2 separate regions of the Homo sapiens genome follow, and region 2 is linked to region 1. The links are contacts of gene promoters, found by promoter capture Hi-C in blood cells and fetal thymus (Javierre and others, 2016). All regions are on one chromosome and are shown on one strand. The core of a region is centred on a gene start or on the middle of the fragment in contact, and the rest is flanking DNA. Distances in the headings are between cores, read along the strand shown.

Region 1 (7,128 bases), core at 1,385-3,884:
CAAGTTGTGTGGGCTGTTATCTCCTGAGAAATCCCTGTAAATGGTATTAGTAATACTTTATAAGCAGGTTGGGAGAATATAGTTTTCTAAGGCATTTTGAAATTCTTAGATGAAAGGGTCTTTATGTAGCAAATTGGTGTCAGCCTATTTTCCTTCCTCTGAGCCAGAAGAAAATAGGCACCATAGGGTGGGAAGGGTTGGCTTATCTGTTAGAGTTCTTTTGTAAGTAGCTTTTGTTGAATTTTTTTTTTGAGATGGAGTCTCGCTCTGTCGCCCAGGCTGGAGTGCAGTGGCGCGATCTTGGCTCACTGCAAGCTCCGTCTCCTGGGTTCAGGCTAGTCTCCTGCCTCAGCCTCCAGAGTAGCTGGGACTACAGGCGCCTGCAACCACGCCCGGCTAATTTTTTGTATTTTTAGTAGAGACGGGGTTTCACCGTGTTAGCCAGGACGGTCTTGATCTCCTGACCTCGTGATCCGCCCGCCTCAGCCTCCCAAAGTGCTGGGATTACAGGCGTGAGCCACCGTGCCCGGCTGCTTTTGTTGAATTTAAAGTGGATGTGAGAAGCTCCTAAGAATATCGTTCACTGTAAAAGCAGACTTTTTTGGATTTGGGTCTTGGAATTCTTAACTGTATTTTCACCTAAGATTTAAAACAAGTTCAAATACTAGTTTGTAATTGGCCAGACTAGGGACAGATACGATCCTTGAATGATCCTGGGTCTCAACTTACCTTTCTTTCATTTTTCCTTTATTTTAGAAGAGGGATAAGAACTTTTTCTGAAGAGCAGTCAACTTTTCCTTTCAGTGTGTAGGATTAATTCCACGAATCTGTGAACTTAAATCTTTGCTGCCAAATAACTTGCAGTAGATGCTGGGATAGTTTTAAATCTATTTTAAGTTATACATTCAGTACATAAGTGCATCTCCGTGTAAAAACAGCTATGTTTGGAAGATCTAAAACGCAGCTTTTGTTTTTGAGAAGCCAACAATCTAATAGGGTAGGATCATATATATGTACAACTAACCGTAATGCATGGTGTTTTGAAAAATGCACGTATCTCCCTGAATTACCCCTAGTTAATAAAATAATTGGGAGCAAATGGTAATATAAGGATTTTGGAGTAACTTAATACTACTAGATTTTGCTGTTTATACATTTACAAAAAACTTTCTGCTAATGCTAAAGAAATAGAACAAGTCTATATGCATAAAGGAAGGTAGGGCTAATTTACTTCCTGGTGCTATGAAACTGGCAATTGGACAGGTGCAATTGTGGGTGTCTTTTTTTTTTTAAGGTGTACCTGTTGCAGGTTTGAAAAGCTGTTGATGCTCATGGGTTGTTTGTGTGCATGTTCTCTTTAAAAACCAGATGTATTCATTCCCTTTTTTTTTTTTTTTTTTTTTGAGACGGAGTCTCGCTCTATAGCCCAGGCTGGAGTGCAGTGGCCCGATCTCGGCTCACTGCAAACTCCGCCTCCTGGGTTCACGCCATTCTTCTGCCTCAGCCTACCGAGTAGCTGGGACTATAGGCGCCTGCCACCGCGCCCGGCTAATTTTTTGTAGTTTTAGTAGAGACGGGGTTTCACCGGGTTAGCCAAGATGGTCTCGATCTCCTGACCTCGTGATCCGCCCGCCTCGGCCTCCCAAAGTGCTGGGATTGCAGGCGTGAGCCACCGCGCCCGGCCATTCCCATTGTTATGTATACTTTGCTATTTGCTGCTGGTGAGACAGATAAGGAGTCACGTCTTTAACTGCACTTGAGTTTCCAGTGACCCCATTAAATCCAATGGGTAAATTTTCCCACGCAGATTACTCACCCAGTTTACAGATTAAGCTTTCATATCCTTAGACTGTATCTGAAATTTTCATAGCTTTGCCCACCTTTTAGGGTTCAGAGTTACTACCCATTCAGTGTCGGTGGCCTTTAGCTGTTGGCAAGCTTCCAAGTAAATAGCTCTTTTGCAGAGATCTCTACCCATTCTATTCTTCCACTCCTGGGTAGTGGAGAACCAAAGTTCACCTGAGTAATGCCCGTGCCCAGCACCCAGTTTCCTGCAGGGGTTAGCACGGATATTGGAGGCTCCCCCGATCCCACAGATACTCAGGATGGGTATTGGAGGGGGCTTGGTTTTTAAGAGGACATGTGAAAGTAATTAACCCGATTTACATTTGTATAATGAGTCCAAACACCACCTTGCAAAAGAACTGAGAGTTTAGCCTGCTTAATGGAGTTTCTGCTTTTCACGGTCCTTGGCCTTACCGACGGTTTACAGTCCAGCCAGATTTAGTTCACAAAAAACCAAAACCAGGTCGACCTCACTGCAGTATATGATGGCAGCGAGCGTTTTAAAGCGCAGGACCTTTAGTCTCCTCAATAGTTTTGTGTAAAGTTGTCCAAAAGTGTTTTTTTTTAAAGTGAGGTGATCCAGTCGGTAAACGCTTTGAAAAAGAATAGCTGTCCCCTGAGCGGGCATTAGTCGCGTGTGAGGTCAGGGCCCATCATTGCGCGTGTTGGGAGCGCCGCGCTGGTCTATGAGCGAGCGCCTCGGCTTGTGGCTGGGCCGGGCCGGGGCGGGGCTGTCTTCCCGCGGAGCGTGCTGGGGGCGGGTCGCGCCGGGCCGGGCCGCTAGTGCGCATGGGCGGGCGTCCTCGGCTCTAACTGCCGCCACTTTCCACACGCTGGGAGGGCCGTTACCTCAGAGATACCCGTGGCCGGCATGTTGGTTGAAAAAGCTTCCCGGAAGGGAGACGAAGAGAAAGGAGAGGAGCAGCTCGTGATCATCCCCGGTAGCGAGTACGCGGCGAAGTAGGCGGCGGCGGAGGGAGCGCTGATGAAGATGGATGTGTCAGTGAGGGCCGCGGGCTGCTCCGACGACCTCAGCTCTGGGGAGGCCGACGTAGACCCAAAGCTCCTGGAGCTCACCGCTGACGAGGAGAAGTGCCGCAGCATCCGCAGGCAGTACCGGCAGCTCATGTACTGCGTGCGGCAGAACCGGGAGGACATCGTGAGCTCGGCGAACAACTCCTTAACCGAGGCTCTGGAGGAAGCCAACGTCCTCTTTGATGGCGTGAGCCGAACCAGAGAAGCAGCCCTCGACGCCCGGTTTCTTGTTATGGCTTCTGATTTGGGTAAAGAAAAGGCAAAGCAGTTAAACTCAGATATGAACTTCTTTAATCAGTTAGCATTTTGTGACTTTCTGTTTCTGTTCGTGGGTCTGAATTGGATGGAAGGCGATCCTGACAAGTTGAGTGATTGTGATGATAGCATAGCTCTTTCCTTCTGGAAGGCAATAGAAAAGGAAGCAACATCCTGGATGGTAAAAGCTGAGACATTCCATTTTGTTTTTGGTTCATTCAAGCTAGAACGTTCTGCACCAAAGCCCCGACTTGAACACCAGAAAAAAGTTCGCAAGATGGAAGAAAATGGCAACATGCCTACAAAGTTGCAGAAGTTGGACCTGAGTAGTTATCCAGAAGCGACAGAAAAAAACGTAGAAAGGATTTTGGGATTGTTGCAAACCTACTTTCGAAAGTATCCTGATACTCCTGTGTCCTATTTTGAGTTTGTGATTGATCCAAACTCTTTTTCTCGTACTGTGGAGAATATATTTTATGTTTCTTTTATTGTAAGAGATGGTTTTGCAAGAATAAGGCTTGATGAAGACAGGCTGCCAATATTAGAGCCGATGAATGTTAACCAAATGGGTGAGGGAAATGATTCCAGTTGCCATGGCAGGAAACAGGGAGTTATATCTTTGACTTTACAGGAGTGGAAAAACATTGTGGCAGCTTTTGAAATTTCTGAGGCTATGATTACATACTCCTCATACTAAAGATTTCTTAGTATAGCATCCTTTTTGTGTTTTTTTTCTGAAGTTAGATGGAGAGTAAAATGTAAACTGAAGCACATATTGTATCTCTTGTAAAGTGAAAAAGTATTTTCAAGAACATCAGACATTGTTTTACTGTGCAGCATATTTTTCTTAGTAATTTATAAGGTCATGATCTTCTGTTATTAAAACAAATTCACTGGCATATTTATGGGAACGTTTTATTGAATGCCCTTTAAGACTATTAATAAAAACAAGTTTTGGATACCAAATTAAGGGATATTTGATAATTTGCAAAACATAATAATTTACGAAAATCAGTGATGATGCTCTGTGATGCGTTGCTTTCTCTGTCATAGGGAACCAAGAGAATCCCAGAAAGGGTTCCTAACCAGGTTGGGCAAAGAGTGGGTAAAAAACAAAAGTTAAAAAAAAAAACCTGTCTGTAAGGCAGTGAATATGCAACATTAAGACTAAAAAAGTCATTGCAAGGAAGACTTAGGATTTATGAGTGAGTATCCATATTCTAAACAATTTCTGTTATTGTACTCAGCAAAAGTAGTGTCTCTGCTGTAGTAGTTGAGGTATCAGCTAAGGGTGAAAGGTGAGTAGAAACACGAAGAAGGAAAAGGCATTCTAGGCAAGAGAATAGCAAGGTCAAATGCATGGAATTGTTAGAAGTTAGGCACGAGAGGACCATTAGATTTATGGAAAAACTATTATATTTGATAAGCTGGGCAACAATTGAATAACTTCATCTATTAATATCCTGAGAAGATGTTTTTGTCAAACTATTATACATTGAACACAAGATCTTGCTATCCAGTTGTAGTTTTTATCTACTGAATTTCTTCTCTGGCCCCTAGTGTCCCTTTGTGGTCTTTGCTAGTACATAGAATGTCCTTCACAATCTACGCTTTTTCATCATGTAACAACTTTGAATATTTGTCCCACTTTAATTTTGCATTTCTATCTTTTTTTTTCCCCCTCGAGACAGAGTATCACTCTTGCCCAGGCTGGGGTGCAGTGGTGCAATCTCGGCCCACTGCAACCTCTGCCTGCGGGGTTCAGGCGATTCTTGTGCCTCAGCCTCCCAAGTAGCCGGGATTACAGGTGTGTGCCATCACACCCAGCAAATACTTGTATTTTTAGTAGGAACAGAGTTTCGCCATGGTAGCCAGGCTGGTCTCGAACACCTGGCCCCAAGTGATCCACCCGCCTCGGCCTCCGGAAATGCTGGGATTACAAGTGTGAGCCAAATTTTGCATTTCTTAATAGGGCTTTAAATGCCAGGAAACTGACCTTGCTGAAACTAAAACATGTTAGTTTATCTGGATGTTCTTCACTTAGTGTAAAGCCATAAAGGCTTTTTTCTTTCCGTTGCATAAATTACAACCTTATTTGGAGATTATTGCCAAAAGTTTGGGTCATTAAGAAAGTAACTTGAGAAGGTGCAGTAAGCATACCCATAAGCTTTCTTCCCCTTGATCCCTATAGGAGCTTAATTTTTGGTAGTCGTGGAATTTTGCCATTAAACAATACTTTGGCAAATGTTTAGGTATCTGTTATGCATAGCAGTGGCAAACTTTCCTAGTAAGTCTAGTGGTACAGGAAAGGGAAATCCAAAGACTCAACAAATGACACCAAGACTGAGAGGAAGGATTTTTCATGTATGGAGATGAGGTTCTTCACCAATAATAGAGTAGAGGTTTTAGCAAAAATAGAACTTTCTCATGAAACTTGGCAAATTATTTTCTAAATTAGTTACTCCTTTCACATATGAAAGAGCGCTGACCCTTGCTAGTGTCTAGTATCCTTTGATTTATAGTAGCAGTCATGGAAGCACCATTTGATCTCACTCATCCTCATTTCCAGCATGTCTCTACCAACCAAGTTCCTTGGGTTTTGCAGAGATCTGCTGTTGGAAGAAAAAGTACTCTTAATGACAGCAAAAAGATCCCGCCCCAGTACTTTACTGACATTCAGTTGCTCTGTTGAATGTCTCATGTCTTTACTAGGAGTATTTGACAGTGATGATTTAAAAGCATTAATAGAGAATCTGGAGGCTTAGGAGAGGTAATTTTTTTGGTCTTCTCTAAAGTTAATAGCTGTTAAAATATAAAGTTGACCACTTCTGTTTCTATTTTTACTGGTTGGCATGACACCAACCAGTAAAATGATGAGGATGATGGATTGCCTCATCATTTTTGAAATTTTGAAATTAAACTGACTGCTTACCTTGAAGAAAAAAGGAGATTAAAAATTTATAGAGGTTAAGAATCAAACTGCAAATCTGCTTGTTTCTTGCTAATACGTTTGTATACTGAATAGAAATAACATTATGCTAGTCTGTCTATATACTGGATCAAGATTTGTTAGGAAGAGGGCATTTCAAAATAGTGGAGATTGACGCAGGGAAGCTCAGCGGAGGACACCAGTGTAAATACATTCCAGCACTTCTTGACTTAGTTCCAGGCAATTTCCCTTCTTCAGGAGATGGAGAATTAGTAACTTAAAGGGATTAATTCCTACCAGCCACTATGCTAACATGCATTATCTTTCTTAAACTCAGCCATTTGATGAGGTCAGGAACCTGTTAGCTTCGTTAAGGATTAGGTGATTGGTCGAAGTCACCTGGCCTTGTGAGTGGTAGAGCAAGTATTTTAACGCAGGTTATTTCTGCATCAGAGCCATCTATAATGGTAGGGGAAATAAAAGTACAAATCTGGCAAAGGATAGAAACTATGTTTAGGGGAAAAGTCAGGATTGCTTATTCCAATTTTAAAAGACTGCCACAGTTGAATTGCTTTCTGTTTTGTGCCCTTTTTGGGGGAGCCTGGAGCAGTGTTTTACTAGGAGTGGGTCTGGGGAAAGGGATTACTATGACAGGCAGGTGGATGAAAAGGAAGGCTATCTAATGTGTAAGCCTTGCCAACAAGTGACAGTTGCCTGCAGGTCATCTCATATTCTATAGCATTGGTTCTCAAAGTGTATGAGGCCCTTTTGGCATACTTTAAGGTCAGAATTATTTTCATAATAGTAAGATGCTGTTTGCCCTTTTCTTTCTTTTTTTTTTTTTTGAGATGGAGTCTCACTCTGTAGCCCAGGCTGGAGTGCAGTGGCATGATCTTGGCTCACTGTGAGCTCCGCCTCCCGGGTTCACGCCATTCTCCTGCCTCAGCCTCTCGAGTAGCTGGGACTACAGGCGCCTGCCACCACGCCCAGCTAATTTTTTATATTTGTAGTAGAGACGGGGTTTCACCGTGTTAGCCAGGATGGTCTCGATCTCCAGACCTCAT
Region 2 (7,128 bases), core at 2,087-4,586, 690 kb after region 1:
GGTGGTTACCAAGGGACTGGAGTAGGGGTAAATGGGTATAAGGTTTCAGTTTTGCAAGATGAAAATGATCTAGAGGTCTGCCACCACTGAATTGTACAACTAAAAATGGTTAAGATGGTAGATTTTGTTACGTGTTTTTTCACCAATTAAAAAAAAATTTAATAAAAAAGGATAAAGAGGAGGGAAGCCTAATGTTATGCTCTTTATGCCCGAATTTGGCGAAATCGAGCCTTGCCCGCTGTTTTTTCCTATGACAGTGTCTGAACCTTTCTTTTTCCCAGGAGTAGGAATGGCCCCTGCTCCCGCGCAGCCTCCAGGCTGCACCACGCTCGCCCCGCCTCTCTCTCCGCTCCTTACTCCGCCCACCGCAGTTTCCTCCAATCGCGGCCCTCTCCCCGCCCCCTTACCCGAGCCTTTTTCCTGCATCCGGGCCTGAGAGTGCAGGCTTGAGGGAAGCATGGAGGTCCATGGCAAGCCCAAGGCTAGCCCGAGTTGTTCGTCGCCCACCCGGGATTCCTCAGGAGTCCCAGTGTCCAAGGAGCTGCTGACGGCGGGAAGCGACGGCCGCGGAGGTGACGGACGGGTGACGGCGGCATGGGCCGCACACGTGCGGCAGAGGAGGCGCGGCCGGTGCAGTTTGGGAGCCGGCCGGTGGCTCCCTGCCCGGGCTCCGTACCCTCGAGGGGAGCCCCGGGGACTGCTGCGGGGCTCCGGCGTGCCCTGCCCGCGGCAGGGGTGGGGGCTTTGGGGCGGGCACCCGGCTGCGGGCCCGGAATGGTTTCCCCAGCTAGTGGTTCTTATATTCTGCAAGGTAGTGAGCGCCCACCCTGCCAGGCGCCGCTGCCAGGCATCTGCCCTGCCCTGGAAGCTGGGAAGCTCTCGAGTTCTTTTGGGGAAGGGAGGGCTTTTGGTTTGGCTGCCTGGGTCGGAGCAGTTGGCTGATAGGGGGAAGCGGAGTAATATTATGCTAACAGTCCCTACCTCTTTCACACCCACACAGACCACCCCTTAGTGCTGCTGTCTTGTAGAGGGAGACATGCATCCAGGAAATCCACACAGCATTTCAGACACTATAGGTAGAATTTAAAAGCACGAGTTCGAATCCCAGCTCCACTAGTAATTAACTGGTGGGACTTAGAGTTATTTTCATTCCCTAAGCCTCAGTTTTTGCATTTGGAAAATGGTGATAGTAGTAATGCCTGTAGAATTTTTGTGAGGAGGAGAATGCCTAAAAAGGCTTGGGCATGTTGTCAGTAAATACTAGCTTGAAGAAAAGGTTTTGTGAGAACCCAGAGATTCCGAAGGAAGTATAATAATGATAACCAAAGCTTATGTAGTCCTTACTATGTATGCCCCAGAAACTAACTCATCTAATCCTCACAACAACCCTTTGCAGAAAATCTGTTATCTCTGTTTTATAGTTGAGGAACCTGAGACATGATTTATCATACAGGTAATTTACCTTCTGGAGATCATGTGGCTAGAAAGTAGCAAAACTGGGACTTGAATTCAAGTAGTCTGGCTCCAGACTCTGTGCTCTGATCACGAATCCAGTAGGCCTTAAGTAGTAGGCATTCAATGGATGTTTGTTGCGGCTCTGCTTTGCAGGTGAACAGGATTTGTTTTTTAACCAGAGAGTTAAGGGATTTTCCGGGTATTAGAAATAGGGTGTGCAAAGCCTTGAGTTTTGTACGTTCCCCTCTTGGAACTCTGATGGGATAGAGAGTTGGGATGATTTGAGTAGTGAGAAATGAGGCTGGAAAGGTAGAGTGGGTGACAAAATCCCCAAAAGGCTGCTTTCCTTGGGTTGAACGTCTTCAGGGAAGGGGAAATACCAGGCAAGCATGTTTTACTAATGAAGAAACAAATGCTTGAAGATCAGGTAAGTTGCCCAGTGTTACACAACTAGTAACCATTTCTGGCTTCACTTAACCATTGTTATGCTCTGTACTGTTTCCTCCGTTCTGTCATTGCAGACCCACGTTTGTCTGCTAATGAATTTCTGATCCAGAAAAGTGCAGATTGGTGTGCATTTATTACCTGCCATTGGTGATAGAGGTGAATGAGACAGATGTAAGAAAGGAGAGGTGGCTGGCTGTACATAAAGAATTAAAATGTTGTAATGGAGCTTGGAGTTCTCCTTTAAAAAAAAAATTTTGGGGGAGTGTGGACAGTCAAGTCTTAAGACTGGTCATGTGAGAGGCTTACTGATGGGCCTTTGTTTTTTTATGCTGTAGTAAATTAAGGGTGTTTGTGTGTCTGTATTTTCAGGTATATGGGACAGGTTGCTCATCAACTCCCAACCTAAGTCCAGAAAGACCTCCACTCTTCAAACAGTTCGGATAGAGAGGAGTCCCTGTAAGTACCTCTTCCCCTCTCTCACCCTCTCTAATGCTGAGTTTTGTCTGATTAAGCTGTGGGACGGTCTCTGCCTTCATTGTCAGGTATCAAACCACAGATAGTCCAGTGGAACAAGTCCTACTTGGGATTTACATGATAAAGTCAGTACACAGAATGGAACTTCTTACATTATTTCTCTACTTTAAGAGGGTAACTTTTTCGTGAAAAATTGCTTGTGGGTTGAATTTTGGGAAGTCAAAAACAATTGTTAATCTCCATGGCAAATTTATTTAGAGGTTACTGAGCCTCAAACTTAATATATATGGATGGAAAACCACAACCACATCCCATTGAATTGGACACAATTATTTAAATGATAAATATTACTTAGAATACAGCATAATGGCCAGTTCTCTTTATTATTCTGTAGTATTGCTGTACTGCACATTCATAAGTATGTCCCACACTCAGACTTTATTACACGAATGCCCTCTATGTAATTCACTCTTAATATTAAAAAAAGGCAAAAATTCAATAAAAACAATGTAAATAAGCATGAAGGTAATGAAGGTATCACATCAATAAACTAAGAAATCATGAGTACTCTGAAAGGAGAATTTAACTGTAGCATCATTACTGTAGCACTAAATCTACAATAGCTGAAATGACCATATGGTGGCTGCCCATCCAAAAACCAGTTTTTGTGGATATAGGTTTTTGTTTTGAGGGATTACATACCTAGGAGTGGAATTGCGGGTATATAGAAGGTGTAATTTTTTTTTTTTTTTTACGAAGAAGAAATTGCTATTTTGCATTTCCACCAGCAAGGTATGAGAGTTTAGTTGCTGCACATCCTAACCAAAATGTGGTATGGCCTTTTTAATTTTAGCTGTTCTAGTGTGGATATAGTGGTATCGCGTTGTGATCTTAATTTGTTTCTAATGGCTAATAATGTTGAGCATCTTTTCATGTGTCACTATTTGTATGTCTTTGGTGAAGTGCCTATTCAAATCTTAAACACATTTAAAAAATCAGGTTTCTTATTGTAAACATCATTCTTGATAGTGCAGCTCTGCTGGAGATAGACTTACCAGCCTTTGTGTGTCTGAGAAAGTATTTTGCTTTCAGTTTTTGGAAGATGCTTTAATGGATTTAGAATTCTAGGTTGACAGTGTGGTTTTTTGCTTTTTCTGTTTTCTCCAGTACTTTAAAGACATCACTACACTTTCTTTTCAGTGGCATTGTTTCTGACGCCAGTGTCTACTGTCATTTTGTGTCATGAATATGGTGTTTCTTTTCTTCTCTGGCTGCCTTTAAGATTCCCTTCATTACTGGTTTTTACCGATTTTATGGTGATGTGCCCTTTGTAGTTTTCTTTGTGAGTCTTGAGCTTGGGTTTGTTGAACTTACTGGATCTATGGGTTTATAATTTTTATCAAATTTGGGAAATTTTTAGGGATGTTGTTGTTGCTTGCTCCTGTCTCGCCTCTCCTGAAGGGACTCCAATGACACCTAATTTTGCCAGTTGAGGTTGTCTCACAGCTCATTGATTGTTTGTTTGGGTCTTATGTTTTGTGTGTTTCAATTTGGATAGCTTCTATCGCTGATTTCGTTGAGTTCACTATTCTTCTATATTGTCTAATCTGTTAATTCTATCAAATGTATTTTTTCAAGGTAGATACAGTTTCCATCTCTAGAAGTTTGAGACTGTTTACATCTTTTTTTCTTTCCTTGTGTTTGTGCTTTTCTTTTCTTCCTTGAACATACAAAGTATATTTCTAAGAGCTGTTTTAACATTCTTATTGCTGATTCTGTCGTCTGCATCATTTCTGAATCTTTTTTCCCTACTCTTTATGGATTATGTTTTCCTGTTTATTTGCATGTTTGCTAATTTTTTATTAGATGTTGGACATTTTGAATATTATGGTGTTGTGTGTTGAGTATTATTTAATTTAGAAGAACCACGACTGGACTAGCCTCAGGGTTCAGCATATACTCTCCTAGAGTACCACGGAATTATTTGGCTTCTGAGGATCACAGTTCAGGCCGCACATTTTGGTACTTGTTTTGCTCTACTTGATTCATTAGTTGGAAACAAAAGCAGTACCAGATTTTCTATCTGTAGCAATATATTTAAATCTGAGGACAGAGAAATACCTTTATTTGTATTAGTAATTTCTCTTTCTGTAATCTGAAGGGGAATGAGAGCTAACATTCACTATTACGTCGGGCTTTATTTGTGTGCATGCTCTTAGGGAGTCCTTCCAGCACCTTATTTTACAAATAGAGGTCGTCTACTTGACCTTGGCCACTATTTTCTTTTCTTCTTCCATACGCTGGACATTTTAGTCATCTGTTATGTAGCCATAGCAGTTACATAAGTTTTGAGAGTCTGTTATATGCGTGGTTATGTGCTGGGCCTCTTTTGAGAGAGAAAATAAATATCCTTGTTTGTTGACTGCTCTGTATTTGGCACAGTGACTGACAGTTATCACTCCTCTTTTATGGATTAGTACGCTGAGGTTTCAAGAGGTAGAATTAAATGTATTAATTAGGATTCTTGGTTGCAAATGACTAAAATCCAGCTCAGATTGCCTTAAGCAAAAAAAGAAATTATGTTGGCTCTTTTTATTGGGGGAAAAATACTCCAGGCACAGTAGATTTCAGGTGCATCTGGATCCAGGTGCTCAGTGTCCTCAGAGGTCAGCCACTCTGTCTCTTAGTTCTGCTTTCCTGGGTATTGGCCTAATCTAGAGCGTACTCTTCCCCCAGGTGTGGAGAGTTGCCAGTTTATCAGCAGCTTCAGCCTTATATTCAGCCAACTCAGTCATTCACTCAGAAAGATTTCTCTCTCAACAGTTCCAACAAAAGGTCCTGAGTGATCTATTATTGGCCCGACTAGAGCAGCGTGTCACTGTGATGCCACTAAAGCATGGTACAGTGGCCAAGGATATGGAGGATGTAGGCATGTATGGGGTGAGGGGCAAGAGTGACTAAGAGTGACACAAGCTTAAAAGGAAAGCCAGGGTTATATTATCAGAAGAAAGGGAACGTATGTTGGGTAGGCAGAAATAACCACTACTTAATTAACTGGCCCAAGGTAATTCAGATAGAGGTAGAACTAGGATTCTGTACATACCTAGTTATTCGTACCCTAAAGCCTCAGAACCTGGTGCTCTTAACTGTTAAGTCACACTGCCTCCCTATTTAGTTACTATTTGTTGAATGCCAGCCTTCTAGGAGTTTACAGTCCTGGGGATATATGAGAAACATAAAACATTTGTGAAACAATTGCTGGATTGTGTAGTCCTACTGTTTTATTCAGAAGAGGATGGAGGGTTTTTAAATGAAGGGAACTAAAAGATATGTAATTATGGTTGTTATTATTAATACTCAATTCAGAAGTGTTTATAGGAAATCCTGGGTTTCAGAATTTACTAGCATAAATGTTGATATGCTGTATTTACTTTCCACAGTATTGGACCAGGTACAGACATTTCTCCCACAGATGGCACGGGCAAATGAAAAGCTAAGAAAAGAAATGGCAGCTGCACCACCTGGTCGTTTCAATATTGAAAACATTGATGGGCCTCATAGTAAAGTTATACAAATGGTAACTATGCTTTGTTTTCATATGGTGAAATTACTGGTCTGCCTGTCACCTAAGAAGAAGAGAACTTTTCCATTTTATTTTCAAGTTTTCATTTTCCTGGTGTTAGCTCATGTTTCCAATGTTGTATAGGTACATAGTCATTTTATGATTTAGTCATTTTAGTCATATGATGTCACAGGAAGGTTTTTTTTCCTAAGTCAAATGCTACATTTGTTATTCTGAAGCATTAATTTACTCGATGTCCTAACTGGGTTTTTTTCTGTCCAAGCCCCAAAAGAGGTAATCATAGCCTGATTTATTGAGTATGCAAAAATAAATGATGTGTGGAAGAGAGCAATTGATTACATAAGCTATGTGCAAAAATGTTCTCTCAGTTTATACTCATATCTTGTTTCTGCAGTGGAATTCCGTTTATAATATCTGTGTCTGGACCAAGCTGAGACAATTGTTAATAATATCTAATTCATTAGCCATTCTATTCAGCTCTCCCTCCAGAATAGATCCCAAATCCAACCACTTTGTACAACCTCTGCAGTTCCTTTGGACCTTTGTTGGCCCAGGTAATTATGGCCTCTCCTTTGGAGTATTGCAGCAATTTCTTAGCAGGTTTTCCTGCGTTCACTGTGCCTTCCCTGGGGTCCGTTGTTCACACAGTTTGGGACCTGGGGGCTTCCCATCACGTTTCAAATAAACTAAGTCCTTCAAAGGGTCCATATGATCCTGCCTGCAGTTCTCTATCTCAGAGGTTCCCAACCCCCAGGCTGTGGACTGGTACTGGTCTGTGGCCTGTTAGGAAGCAGGTCGCACAGCAGGAGGTGAGCGGTGGGTGAGAGCGCATTACCACCTGAGTTCTGCCTCCTGTCAGATCAGCAGTGGCATTAGATTCCAAAAGGAGCGTGAACCCTATTATGAACTGTGCATGTAAGGGATCCAGGTTGTTGTGCGCTCTTTATGAGATTCTAATGCCTGATGATCTGAGGTGGAACAGTTTCATCCCCAAAACATCCCTGCCAAGGTCCGTGGAAGAATTTTCTTCCACAAAACTGGTCCCTGGTACCAAAGAGGTTGGGCACTGCTGCTCTGTCTGACCTTATCTCCTACACAGTCCTCATTTACTGCCCTCCAGCACCAGTCTCACTGCAGCCGGTCTTCTCCCCTGCGGTTTTCTCAGGTAG

What was found. Contacts are between HindIII fragments. The CHiCAGO score rates a contact against its expected background, and 5 or more counts as called.
Region 2: a contact is called between a fragment that was not itself captured here and the fragment with the promoter of EID3 in region 1, in 8 of 17 cell types (non-activated CD4 T cells, naive CD4 T cells, naive CD8 T cells and 5 more). The highest score is 7.5, in non-activated CD4 T cells.

Annotation. Positions count from the first base shown.
Region 1 is chr12:104,301,105-104,308,232 of GRCh38, forward strand. EID3 (EP300 interacting inhibitor of differentiation 3) reads left to right here and starts at 2,635. Exons shown (of 1, transcript NM_001008394.3): 1 at 2,635-4,101. The coding sequence starts at 2,831. The coding sequence ends at 3,832. All of the region lies in intron 4 of TXNRD1 (thioredoxin reductase 1), which reads left to right. RefSeq lists enhancers at 1-63, 602-771, 2,563-3,435, 2,743-2,982, 3,013-3,072 and a silencer at 2,473-2,702. The HindIII fragment of the contact is 794 bases long and covers 1,937-2,730 here.
Region 2 is chr12:104,985,896-104,993,023 of GRCh38, forward strand. It overlaps NOPCHAP1 (NOP protein chaperone 1), which reads left to right and starts at 421. Exons shown (of 4, transcript NM_152318.3): 1 at 421-572; 2 at 2,272-2,358; 3 at 5,817-5,953. The coding sequence starts at 458. LOC105369952 (a long non-coding RNA gene) reads right to left here and starts at 475. Exons shown (of 2, transcript XR_007063436.1): 1 at 408-475. RefSeq lists enhancers at 75-587, 588-1,098 and a silencer at 651-900. The HindIII fragment of the contact is 4,021 bases long and covers 1,327-5,347 here.